Regions from separate parts of the Homo sapiens genome. Here regions 1 and 3 are each linked to region 2. The links are contacts of gene promoters, found by promoter capture Hi-C in blood cells and fetal thymus (Javierre and others, 2016). All regions are on one chromosome and are shown on one strand. Each heading gives the region's core, a stretch centred on a gene start or on the middle of the fragment in contact. The rest is flanking DNA. Distances are from core to core; before and after follow the strand shown.

Region 1 (4,428 bases), core at 1,213-3,712, 1.0 Mb before region 2:
GAATCTCATAAAAGCCATGGACTCTCTTGCCACAAAAGATACCTGCTAACATGTACACAAACTTTTGCCTGTAATTTCAGGTATTAATAGAGACCTTCTCACGCTCATTTCATAGATTCCTCCTAGGGTTCTCGGGCTCCATATTAAGAATCCTTATTCTAGAGTTGGGTGTTGCTCTGAGGCAGCAGTGACAACATAAAAGGGTATGTGAGAAGTCAAAAGTGGGGGATGGGAGAGGGCAGCAGCTGGCTAAGTGTCCTGCAACTGCCAGGTCAAAGCAGAGGCAGGCCCCACACAGAATTCCTCTGAGGTGCTAGCACAAGTTTGGTTTTTCCTGAGAATGTAGTCCTAGCATTTGCTTTCCTCCTCAACAAGGACAAACCATGCAACACACTGCGCCCTCCTCCCTCCCTTTTTCTTGTCTTCAGTTCTTTTCTAAGCCTACTACCAAGTCTGAGCCTTAACCAGAGCAATAAAGCAATGCCTCTTGGACCAAATGTGCGTCCAGTCTTTTTACTCACTTCAGTTCTAATGTTAAACTCTATGTCCTTGATTCTTTTACTTTTATGCCTTTTTTTTTTTTGAGACAGAGTCTTGCTCTGTCGCCCAGGCTGGAGTGCAGTGGCGCAATCTCGACTCACTGCAAGCTCCGCCCCCCGGGTTCACGCCATTCTCCTGCCTCAGCCTCCCGGGTAGCTGGGATGACAGGCTCCTGCCACCACACCTGGCTAATTTTTTTTGTATTTTTAGTAGAGACGGGGTTTCACCATGTTAGCCAGGATGGTCTCAATCTCCTGACCTCGTGATCCACCAGTCTCGGCCTCCCAAAGTGCTGGGATTACAGGTGTGAGCCACCGCGCCTGGCCACTTTTATGCCTATTCTTAAATGTACATACTTGTTGGGGAATAGAGTAAACAAAACAGGTCAATTGAGAATGAATGCTAAAAATGATAATACTAAAATTATAATAACAACACATGCTGTGTTCTATTTGCTTTGTAAGTATTAACTCATTCAGTCTCCCATGTGGTAGGCACTATCATTACCATTTGACAGGCGAGGAAAATGAGGAACTGAAACGTTAAGTAACCTGCCCAAGGTCACAAAGCTTTTACTTAAGTGGCAGAGCTGGGATTTGAACCAACGCAGTCAGGCTCCTGGGCCCATGCTAATAAACCACTGCCTTAATAGAACTTTGGGATTACTGGAGAAAAGAAAGGAGTAAACATGTAACTGGCATTAGAGACTAAGTTTAAATCTCTCCCCCTCTATAATTCTGACATGCCAACATCCCAACAACACCCTAAGGTGGCTGTCAAAGACTCATACCCCAGAAAATCAGCCATCTCTACTAGCAGCTGCAAGAACAGCACTTACCCTAACAACATGTCCCAAGCAGTAATACCCAGATGTGCCATCACCAACATCTCATAGGTTAGCACGTGCAAACAGTTACAAGATCACTTTCCTCCTACCTCTTTTCTCTGGATGGGAGTTAGGGAAAGAAGAAAGCAATGAGATCTGGGGTTAGTGCTCCTTCTTCGAAGGGAGGAAATATATTTTAAACCTCAGTTGCCTTTAGAGAGAAACATAATTTACCACTTCATGGCAAAGAAACACTGTTGGTTATATTCTGGGGTTGAATTCAAACCCAAATAAAATTTCCTGGCTAAAACATACACTAGAGAGTAGAAGCAATAAGGCGAAAGCAGAGAGGGGAGACACCTCTGCTTACACACTCTCTGTAAAGGTTCAGACACCTTTACAGGAAGCACCCCTGCCTGTCTCCTGGAAGACCAGCATTGTCTCACTCTGCAGAGCACAGGAGTAATCTGCTGTGGGTGCTGTGGGAGGCAGCGACAGGGGATGCAAATGGGATTGCAAAGGTTAACACTGTTTTACCTAGTAAGACAAGGTCTCCCTAATCAACTTGGCAAAGGGTGGGTTACACAGGTTTATTTTGTACAAGACTTCTTAATAAGGTAACGGGCATCCTAAAATATCAAAACAGCTTTCCTAAGTCATTTCGCCTAAACTTTCACATCTATAGCACCCTTGAAAGGAAGTTTTTTGGCTTTTACTTAAAAACTTTAGAGTTGCAGTGGTCATTCCTCATACTACATAAGTAAAAGTCTTAAAAGTAGGTTTGTGGTTTCCCCCAGGATTGAACCATAAACCACACCCAGTTAAAAGTCATGCATCTCTGTATAGGAAATGACTGAGGCCTGCTGGGAAGTACTACCCATTGACTCAGTCTAACCTTCTCATTCAGACCTGGTCCACACACCCAGGCCTGAACGCTCTGGTCAGAAAATAGCTCCTCTTCACTGCTGGAAACACTCATGTAGCGATAATTGAAGCTGGCCCTTACCTGGGGGCTGTGCCTCTGGACACTGAACTGGGGGTTGCCTGCGAAATGGTCACAATGTCTTCATCCCCTCCGTCCTCATAAAAGCTCGCTAGCGCGATCTGAAACAGAGAGGTAGTACCTTGGGACCCTTAAACAGGCCTTCACCTAACGCACATCTCCTTTGAGCACAAAGGAATACAGACATGGCCAACACTTACAAGGTAGCTTGCATCCATGGGCCAAAGAAAATTAGACCAGAAGGTTAACAGCTCAGCTGTTAGTCTTCGTGTCAACTGAAACAAATTCCACCCACTAAGGTGAAAAGAAGGCAGTAAGAATGGCTGGGGTGGAAGACACTCTTTATTCTCATTTTATGAAGAAACGTGATCTAGTAAAAGTAGCACACATTTAGTGAGCATTTACATGCCAGGTTGTTCTGAGCATTCTACATACGTTAATTTGTTTAATCCTCAAGAACTCTATGCTATTAGTACTCTTATCATCTCATTTTATAGTTGATACAGAAGCACTGAGGATTAAAAAAAAATTTGTTCAAGTTTACACAACTGGTAAAGAGAGGAGCCAGGTTCCATCCCTGCTAGTGTGCTTAGGCCCTCACTCTTAAGCGCTTCCAGTACAGCCCGGAGTCAGGAACTGTGGAGTCAGTCCAGGTTGCTACTTTTCCTTTCTTTCAAGTTGTTTCCTAATCTGTGAAATGGGGGTACCTGTCTCACCAACCTGCACACTGGATGAGATAATCCATTAAGATTTATGCATACTCGCATCTTAGGTTTACACATACAGAAGGAATATGGGAATCCTTTGGTCATTTGTGACATCTCTGTCACCAACTCAACGGACAGGCATTCACTAATCACTTGCTTTGCACAAACACAAGAAAGCATTGAGGTCACAGAGATGAAATAGACATGGCCTCTGTCCTCAGGGTCACCAACTTCACAGGAGACAGTGAGCTGTCAAGGGATAAAAGTAATCTGCTGGGAGGCAGTGTGCTGTCTCAGGCCATGTAGTGAACTGGCATTCTCAGGGAGCCTACATTCAAGTCCTGTTCCTGCCAGGCAAGTCACATGCATGATCCTCAGTTTCCCCACTACAATGTGAGGGGAACGAGACAGAAGATCTGTTGGTCACAACACTGTGTGCTTTTAGGTCTTTCAGGTAGAAACTTTTTATTTCTGCCCAGCATAGGGGCTTCCCATTGTGTCTAGGTGTGATCTAGGTGTGATGCTTTACCGAATTCTTATGTTTGGGGAGTAATTTACGTTTGGCAGCAGACTCAGTTCAAATTCCAACCCCGCTACTTACTGGCTATGTGACCCTGAGCAAATTCTTTGCCCTCTGTGCTTCCAATTCCTCATCCATAAAATGGGTCTAGTCTTTACCTCATAGTGTTGCTAGGATCCAACGAATCATATTATGTAAAGTGCTTGGCACATGGTGGTTTAAAGCTTGGGCTCTGTCTGCTTGCAATCAGACAGAACTGGGTTCCACTTCTACCTCTTCTGCCTGGTAGCTAGTGAGGCCTTGAGCAAGTTACTTAACCTCTTTAATCTCAGCTGCAAAATGCGAAGGTTAAATGACAAAAGACATGTAAAGCAGTCAGAACAGCGCTTGGCTCATGGTAGGTACTCAATAAATATTAGTCATCACCGTCATCATCTACCTAAGACGAAGCTGGCCAAGAATATTTATGCAATTCTTTCTACAGTTAATTACCGAATGCTTATTATGTGCCAGGCATTGTTCCAGGCACTGGGAATTCATCAGTGTACAAAAATCCCTGCCTCGTGAAGCTTAAGTCTTCTTAGCAAGTATTTAGTGAATACTCAGTACGTGCCAATGAACTACACAGCAATTTCCACGAGACTCCCATTTTACAGATAAGTTAACTACGCAAGGTGAAGAAGCTCCAACCTTGCGCCACCACCCCAGAGGTATTCTCCCAGCAATTAGGAAGGCTGGGCGGCGGTCAACTCCCGGGCTGGACTTCGGAAGTGGAAATGAGCGGCCACCTAGTCCCGAGTGGGGCTTCACCCAAGAGCTGCTCACTCGGACC
Region 2 (4,632 bases), core at 1,028-3,527:
CTCCCATCAGTCTGACTGCTATACCCAAGTCCTAACCCACCAAGTGCCTTCTATGGACATCTGTTCATCTCTGTGAGCTCAGACAACAAAGTTCTGAACCTGCAAATATGCAGATCAAAACCTTGACTCCATGGCCGGGCTCAGTGGCTCACTCCTGCAATCCCGGCATTTTGGGAGGCCGAGGTGGGCAGAACACCTTAGGTCAGGAGTTCAAGACCAGCCTGGCTAACATGGCGAAGCCCCGTCTCTACTAAAATTACAAAAATTAGCCACACGTGGTGGCAGGTGCCTGTAATCCCAGCTACTCGGGAGACTGAGATGGGAGAATCGCTTGAACCTGGGAGGTGGAGGCTGCAGTGAACTGAGATCATGCCACTGCACTCCAGCCTGGGTGACAGGGAAAGACTCCATCTCAAAAAAACAAAAACAAAACTTGACTCCACACAAAGATACTGCGAGCCTCCCTCAGGTTAGGTGGTTCAGTTTCCATTCAATGACCATTTTAACCAGCTTCTAACCACAAGGGATCTGAACCTTTAGGGCAACATTCACTGGTCCAGCTCAACTAATGTTTACTGGGTGCTCACTGTGTATCTGGCACTGTGATAAGCACAGTACATCTCATTTAATCCCCAAAATTGGGCCCATTATTATCCCTATTTTACAGATGAGGTCACTGAGGCTAGGAGAGGTTAAGTAACTTGCCCAGTTTCACAGCTGGGAAGCTGTGTTGGAACCTAGACAAAATGAATCCAGCGCCTATTCTAACCAGTTATCCAAACAATATCCTACCAGGTTTCCCTGCTTCCAGTCCCATCGAATATACATGCCAGAGCTAGAGCAATCTTTCTAAACACCACTAAGCTTATGTCATTTTGCTGGTTAAAATCCTTCAGTGGGCAGGGTGTGGTGGCTCACGGCTGTAATCCCAGCACTTTGGGAGGCCAAGGTGGGTGGATTAACTGAGGTCAGGAGTTCGAGACCAGTCTGGCCAACATGGTGAAACCCCGTCTCTACTAAAAATACAAAAAATTAGCCAAGTGTGGTGGCGGGTACCTACAATCCCAGCTACTTGGGAGGCTGAGGCAGGAGAATCGCTTGAACCCGGGAGGTGGAGTTTGCAGTGAACCCTGATCGATCCACCGCACTCCAGCCTGGGCAACAAAAGCAAAACTCCGTCTCAAAAAAATAAAAATAAATTAAATTAAATCCTTCAATGACATGCCTCACCACCACTGAGGTAAAATTAACATGCAAGGCCTTTAGTAACTAGCCTCCTGCCAATTCTTCCCGTCTTCCCTTCTTTCTTCCTTTCTCCTCCAGCAACTTTTTCTCAGTCAACAAACGCAGAAAAATCCAGTAACTTTTTAAATCTTGTTACCCTTCAGCCTTTGTTCCTTCAGTTCTCCGGGTCTGTAATATTCCCCCCATTTTCGCCGGGAACATTCTTGCTAATCTTTTAGGAATCTGCTCAGGAACCATCTATTTGAGAAAACATTCTTACCCCGCCCCGCTGCCGTTACTTTTACCGAATGACCACACTGAATTATATTATGTGTCCCCAGCTACCTCTGTGAAGGAAGCAAACATATTTCAGAGAGTAGCCCCAGCGCCTGAGAAGTCAGGCACAGGCAAACACGGAAACGTGATGAGCAACTGAGTGGAGCTCTTCCTCCATTCGCCATCACCCTCCTCCGCCCTCCTCTCCATCCAGCAGACCTAGCGAGACTCTAGCGTGGTCCACGAGCCCCTTCCACCCACTTCCGCCAACTCTTTCTCAGACTCACAAACTTCCGCAAGTCTGAGCCTTTTACCGGGTCCCCCTGCGGCTCCAGTGCCTGCTCCGAAGCCCGGGACATATATTTATTCGGCAAAAGTTAACTTAGTGCCTACTGGGTCCCAGGAATTATGGCTACAGCGGTGTCGAGAGCCGCGGTTCTACCCTCGCCCCTGCCGAGCGACCTCGGCCTCCGACACCGGTTCCAACCTTTTCCTCGACCCCATGCCTAGCCGAACCGCCAAGGTCCTGGTCTTTCCCGCCCAGACCGAGCGGCCTCGGCCCAGGCCTTCACCGCCCTAAGTGGCTCCAACCCACGGCTTCCTCCCCGATCAGTCGCGGTTCCCACTCCACAACAGACTCGGAAGCTCCCGCGCCGCCAGCCTGTGCCCTCCTTACCATGGTGGCGGTTCTGATGGCTCTGATACCCGCCGGATTCGCCTCCTCAGAGGCCTAGCCTCTCTCCCACAGCCGATTTCCCGCCGCCGCTACCGGAAATGCAGCACCACGTAAAATGCGGTCGGGTAGAAACCTACTTCCGGTCCAGCTCACTAGCCCTGGAGTTCCGGCCCCGGAGCGGAGCTTCTGCCGAGCAGAGGCGGGGCCTGGGGACTGGGCGTTAACATCCGGCTTTGACGTAAGGAGAGCCTTAAGTTCCTGTTTGGACACCTTCCTAGCTTAAATCCGTACTGAGAGCTGCTCTGTGTCACACTCATTTCTCTTCACCCCGCCTTTCCCATTAACCTCTCGGTCCTCATTTCCCATCACCCTCCCCGGCTCTCTCCTCTACAGTCACTATTCTTGCTTTTCCCTCCACTGGCTGGACGTGCTCCTTTTTCAGCCCCTCTGCATTTGCTTTCGCCTCTGCCTGGAATGGTAGTCCCCAAGGTATACCAGAAGGCTGCTGCCCTCACCTCTTTCAAGGTTTAAGCTTAAATAACATTTTCCCAGTGAGGATTTCCCTAGCCATCCTGTAACCTTCCCACCCACCTCATCCTCATCTCTCCTGTATTTCCCTCTTGCTATCTAACACGCTGTATATTTTTGTTAGTTATTTTATTATCCCCTCCCCATTAGAATGTAAGATCCATAAGGGTGTGAATTTTTCTCTTTGTGTATTACTCATTGCTGTAGTGCCTAGAACACTTTAGCACAAAATAAGGGCTCTACCCATATTTGCTGATAATCGCATCCAGTCGTATGACATTTATTTTTTTTCTATGACTTTTTTTTTTCTTTTGAGACAGAGTCTCAGTCTGTCACCAAGGCTGGAGTGCAGTGGCACAATCTCGGCTCACTGCAACCTCTGCCTCCCCGGTTCAAGCGATTCTCCTGCCTCAGCCTCCCGAGTAGCTGGGAATACAGGCCTGTGCCACCACACTCGGCTAATTTTTGTATTTTTAGTAGAGACGGGGTTTTGCCATGTTGGCCAGGCTGGTCTCGAACTCCTGACCTCAACTCCTGGTCTCGAACTCCTGATCCACCCACTTTGGCCTCCCAAAGTGCTGGAATTACAGGCGTGAACCATCACACTGGGCCCTTCCTATGACTTTTAAATACAGCATATACACCCAAGGCTTTCAAGTTTGTTCCTCTAACCTTGGTCTCTTCATTTAACTCTTGGCCCTTTATATCCAGCTGCCAGCGTGATGTGAATGTCTAATAGGTATACCAAATTTAACATGTTGAAAACTGAATTCTTGATTCTATTCACTGTTTCTAAAACCACTTCACCAGTGTTCCCCATCCCCGAAGTTTCTTGGATTAAAAAAGAAAAAAAAGAAAATGACAAATTTGAAGCATATTTCATTCTTCTCTTTCTCTGCCATCGAATAATCAAATTCATCAGCAAATCCTGTGGCCCCCACCTTCAAATTATCTTGAATATGATTGTTGTCACCCACTCCATTGCGTCCACTCTAGTCATAGCCACCATCGTCTCTGTCTTGGATCATTGAACGAGCCCGTAACTTGTCTCTTTGCTTCCTTTCTTGTTCTCACGGCAGCCAGAGGGATCCTTCTAAACGTACTGGGATATCAGATGATGTCATGTCCTGGTCTCCACTTACCAAAAACTTCCCAGCACACATGGAATAAAATCTAGCTCTGCGCTCCTCTCCAACCTCATTCATCTCCGTCAACATTGCCCTCATTCATCCTTCTCCAGTCACACTAATCTCCTTGCTGTTCCTCAAACCCAGCAAGGAGAGCTTCCACCTTGGTGCTTTGCCATCTTCACACCATCTCTAAAGGGTGTGTTCTGTTGTCCCGTTTCCTGTCACCTGTAGATGAAGAGGCGAAGCCTCATAGAAATGAATTATGTTGCCCAAAGTGGCGGAGTCAGAGTGGGAATATAGGTCCGTCTGGCTCCTCAGCTGTTCATTTGCCCCCACCTTACCCAGCTGCCTAACACTTCATTCATGCATGCATTTAAAATCATTTTTATTTAGCATCTACTAAGGCCATGCACCATTATTGGGATAGAGTCCTTTCCCTCACGGAGCTTTACATCCTACTGAGAAAGACATAGTAAACCAAATAAATAAGTATGCAATGTAACATTAGAGTGATATGAAAAAAATAAATAAAGGCAGAGGAACTGAGAGGGATAGGGTACAGTTTTGGCTAGGTGGTCAGGGGAAACTTCTCTGAGGAGTGGTATGTGAGCAGAGACCTGAACCTACACTCAGGTCTATCAGAAGGATGAATATTATGAAGGACATTCTAGAAAATGTATATAAAGGGAATCATATAATAATACGTGGTCTTTTGTGACTACCTTCTTTCACTTAGCACAATGTTTTTAAGGCTCATCCATGTCATGACACGTATCAATACTCCATTCCTTTTTATGG
Region 3 (4,538 bases), core at 2,039-4,538, 1.1 Mb before region 2:
CTCGGCTGAAAAACTCCTGTGACTCCCCCATCTCAGGAGATAAAACTCTTAAAATGGCCTACAAGACCCTCTAAGAAGTGTCAAGCCTCCGCCCCTACCACCATCCCTCTGACTTCACCTCTGATTACTCTTGTACTTTTCCAGTCCCAGAACATTGTTTCCTTATGTTCTACATACACACCAGGGATACCTCCACCCGTGGGCCTTTGCATTTGCTGTTCTCTCTGCCTAAAATGATCTTGCTCAAACAGTCACATAGGTTACATCCTTACCTCCTTCAAGTCTTTGCTCAAATGTCACTTTCTCATTGAGGCCTTTGCCAATCTATCTAAAACCTCAACCTTTTCCTATTCCCTCCTTAACACTTACTAGCTTATACACAACAGTCTTGCTTATTAATCATATTTATTATGTCTTTTCCACTACAGTGTGAGATGAAGGCAGGAACTGTGTCTTCTTCACTCCTAAATTCTTGGTAGCCAGGACAGTGTCTTGTACATAGCAGACATTCATCAAGTACTTACAGAAATATCAAAGGTACCCTTTTCTCCTCCTGGCCTGTGTATATACCTGGAAGACGCTTTCCTCCTGCCTGACTGCACCATACACACCCAAGACCAAATGGCACTTCCTCCAAGAAGTTCTAGCCTATAGGTGTAGGTTGCCTGAGGTACTTTCATTGTAACTGACCACTCCCTACAGGGTAAGCTTCTTGAGGGCAACATTGAGGCTTTGCCCAGCTCCTTATATATTCACTGAGTGACCGAGGGAATGCCAGGTCCTAACTGGCCACTCATTCAAACAGTCACTGAATAGCTACTCTATGCCAAGACTGATGGGGAGACCTTGGAGAACAACACTAGTGTGGGTCTGGCCTCCTGGAGCCTTCAGTCGGTTGGGGAAAGAGCAGATGTTTAACTACACGGATCCTGACTATGATGGGGGCTAAGAAAATAGATGGGTGCATTGTTGCAGAATTAGAAGCATGCATGTATGCATCCAAAGTGTTACTTAAGCTGTGCTATAAAGAAAAGAGCCTGTCATGCAGTGGGGAGTGGGGGCAGTGTGGTGGCACCTAAGCAAAGGGGCAGAGACCTCCATGTGGGAAAAGGCTTGGAGCATTCGAGGAATGAATGCAGGCCAAGGTGGCTTGAGCTCCTGGGAGAGGAAGAGCAAATGTAACAGAAAGAGACAGTAGCATCTAAGAACTGGTTATTTCTACCTCCCCGACTTTCTGCACTGCTAGAATACACCTGGTCAAAATCAAAGGGGTCCAGGGGAGGGAATGCAGAGACTTGGTTAAGCTTTTTAGCAGGAAAAGAAAACAAAAAAACAGAAGAAAAAATAGAAGTAAAAATAAACAAATGTCACCATGAGCACCAAAGGGAGAACTGAATGCTATGTGATTAAGTTATTCATAACCTTGGCTTCTTCCATGGGAAACAGCAGGTGACAATATTTTTAGAGAAAATTCCAAGGCAGACAAATGATTTCCAGTTTATGGATACAATAAACCCCTCAGTAATTCATAAAAATCAGTTTAAGCCTAAAAATGTTCTAGTTAAAACATCTATGAGTAAATAGGTGAATTTATGGTATGTAAATTATATTCAATAAAGCTGTTACCAAGAAAAAAAAAGGTCATGGACCCCACTGAAAGGAACCAGAGCTCTTTGAAAGATGGCTGATAATTGGACCAGAGTAGTGAAACCGAGAAATGGATGAAGGAATGGTGGGAGCCTGTCAAAAAGGTACTGGAGCCAGCTTAAAGGGCTCCTACTGGCCAAATTTAGGATGATATTAGCATCAAAAAGAATAATGGGTATCATTGATCTTAAGGCCCTGACAAAAAATTTCAGCCCACAGTACAGTCAAAGCAAATAGAGGGGGAAAAAGTCACTTGCCCCCACTGGGAATGGCAATACCCCATCAGTTAACATTCATTTTTCATTTTAAAAATTGGTAATTAAAGGCTGGGCACGGTGGCTCATGCCTGTACTACCAGCACTTTGGGAGGCTAAGGAGGGTGGATCACTTGAGGCCAGGAGTTTGAGACTAGCCTGGGAAACCTGGCGAAACCCGTCTCTACAAAAAATACAAAAATTAGGACAGGTGGCATGCACCTGTATGCCCAACTATTCAGAAGGCCGGATGGGAGGCCGGGATGGGAGTCTGGGAGGTCGAGGCTACAGTGAGCCATGATCAAGCCACTGCACTCCAGCCTGAGTGACAGAGACACTGTCTCAAAAAATAAAAATAAAATTTGGTATTTAAAGGTAAAGAATTACTTTACCTTATCTTATAGAAGGATAACAGCTAATAAATTTAGAAAGAATGAAGGAATTTTAAAAATCAACACTTTGTGAATGCCAGTGACTTCTTCAGGGGAGAATGATCAGATGGTGTAAACACCACTAGGTGAAAGGCTGATGAGCAAGAGACCATCTATGGCTACCTAAGCACTCCACAGATCACTGCTAAATGCAAAGGGAAAAATGTACCTTTACAGAAAAGATCAAATTTAGCATCACAACTAGTGATGTTTCCCATGTGTGCTGAGGATGAAGTACTCACACTAAAATGTTTAAACGGAATCTATTCAGACACTTAAAAGATTAAACATCCGGTTCAGAAAATCAAGGCAGGGAACAAGTTAAACAATACCATGAGAAAACAGTAAGACAGATGTGGAGTATTCTATAACTAGCCTGCTCTCTTTGAAGAAATCAGAGTTATTAAGAAAAAAACAGCGTAAGGACTCTTCTAGACTGAGATTACAGACATAACAACTGCGATGAGTGAGGCTCAATGGAACTGTGGTTTTAAAAAAGAGCAACACTTTGGAGACAACTGGGTAGTCTCGATAGGCATTTGCTTCACAGCAGGCATCGTTACTCCCATTTTATAGACAGCATGTGGAAGCTGGGAACTGTGGGACAATTTGTTCAAGCTCTCATAGCCCGTTGTATGGCAGGGTCAAGATCAGAACACAGCGAAGAACCCACATGCTCTTTGGGGATCACTGTCCACCTGGCACCACTTCTGCCCACTGCCTGAGCTGGCACTCCACACACCTGGGATACAACCAGTGTCCTGTTTCTGCCTTTGCCCCCAAAAGCCCATTGTCCACACAGTAGCCAGAAGGAGCGTGGGTTGGGGGGGCGGGGGCGGGCATTAAAAGCCAAGCCAGCCAGTGGCTCTCACCTGAGTTAGAAAAAGGCAACGTTTTTATAAAAACCAACGAGGCTCCACCATCCCCTCATCTCCTGCCACATACCCTTTCACACAATCCACTTCCTGTTCCTCTAACGCACCGGTCTTCTTACTGTTCCTCTAATGCACCGAGCAGGCTCCAGCCTCAGGGTCCTGCACTAGCTCTTCCCTCTGCCTGGATACTCTAGACAGCCCTGTAGCTCCCTCTCCAATGTCCTTTGAGTGAATGTTAAAATGCCATTTTTTTCAGAGGCCTTTTCCAATCACCCTCACGAAAAGCAGCCAACTTCCCTTCCCATCCCTCACTCTGCTTTAATCTCTCCAGCGCTTCTTACTACCTGATGTGCTCCATGGCCATACTATCAGTCTCCTCATCATAAGCAAAGCCCCACCAGATCAGGTCTTTGTCTATTTAGTTCACTAGCCATGTCCCTAGAGCCTGGCTTGCTGCTGTTGCTCAAAAAACATCTGCTGTGGGAAGGCAAAGGGACTTGTTGCAGCCCTGCCCAACAGTTACAGCCTGTGTGCCTCAAGACAGCACACGTCAGGGGAAGCCATCTGAGGCATCTCTGCTGAGGGTGAGCCTCCCTCCAGACATCAGATCACCAACCAAGAGATACCTAGCAAGGGAGTGGATGGAATAAAGCAGAGGAGAGGGGGGAACAAAGCTAAGGAAAAGCAAGGGGCTTGAGGGAGGCTGCAGCAAAGTGGCCACACCTGTCCCGGGAGCCTCAGCAGCCTTCCCAGTCAACCTCCTGAGGACATGAGGTTGAGGGGCTCCTGGTTTTTCTCAGTCAGAAACCGGGAGGCTATACCTGACTTAAACCTGATCCCAAGGACAAAATGTCCAGTTAGTTACTTTTTAAGAAGAAAAAAGAAAACATTCCTTCAATCCCCTTGGGGCTGCTCTCACAATGGCAGGCACACGGCCTGCTGAAGTAAGTAAAAGAGGTCTAAACCTAGCTGTGTGCCAGGACAAGCTAACAGTAAAGATGACGAAGCTACTGGAGGCAGCAGGGAGGCGCCATGAGAATTCCCTGGCTCCTAAAGGCACTTACTTGGCAGCTTACCTTTCCACCACCTCCCTCCCACCTCAATGCCTGTCATGCTCCTAGGAGATGCTTAGCTGGTGATAGTGAACTTTGTATTTTCCCTCTGGTACCACAGAGGTAGTGCAGGCATTCCTTTGAGGCCTTGCTCATGCTGTGCTCTGCCAGAAGGTCACGGAAGTCACCAGAGGGACCCTTGAGAGTGACATCAAGGTGACTGACAGCCATTAGTGGCATTTAAAGCATCCATGTGGTAAAGGTCAGTCTGTGCTCTGC

What was found. Contacts are between HindIII fragments. The CHiCAGO score rates a contact against its expected background, and 5 or more counts as called.
Region 1: a contact is called between a fragment that was not itself captured here and the fragment with the promoter of SNRPB in region 2, in 1 of 17 cell types (total B cells). The highest score is 5.6, in total B cells.
Region 3: a contact is called between a fragment that was not itself captured here and the fragment with the promoter of SNRPB in region 2, in 1 of 17 cell types (fetal thymus). The highest score is 5.4, in fetal thymus.

What each region holds. Positions count from the first base shown.
Region 1 is chr20:1,461,957-1,466,384 of GRCh38, forward strand. NSFL1C (NSFL1 cofactor) reads right to left here. Exons shown (of 9, transcript NM_016143.5): 2 at 2,373-2,470. Among named protein-coding and RNA genes, the nearest start is that of NSFL1C, 2.7 kb to the right of the region's middle. RefSeq lists an enhancer at 4,122-4,428. The HindIII fragment of the contact is 2,711 bases long and covers 1,108-3,818 here.
Region 2 is chr20:2,468,512-2,473,143 of GRCh38, forward strand. SNRPB (small nuclear ribonucleoprotein polypeptides B and B1) reads right to left here and starts at 2,278. Exons shown (of 7, transcript NM_003091.4): 1 at 2,177-2,278. The coding sequence starts at 2,179. RefSeq lists enhancers at 1,898-2,017, 2,178-2,227, 2,238-2,287. The HindIII fragment of the contact is 1,844 bases long and covers 863-2,706 here.
Region 3 is chr20:1,385,593-1,390,130 of GRCh38, forward strand. All of the region lies in intron 2 of FKBP1A (FKBP prolyl isomerase 1A), which reads right to left. The region is part of intron 2 of FKBP1A-SDCBP2 (FKBP1A-SDCBP2 readthrough (NMD candidate)); the gene reads right to left. Among named protein-coding and RNA genes, the nearest start is that of MIR6869, 5.1 kb to the right of the region's middle. The HindIII fragment of the contact is 3,972 bases long and covers 1,303-4,538 here.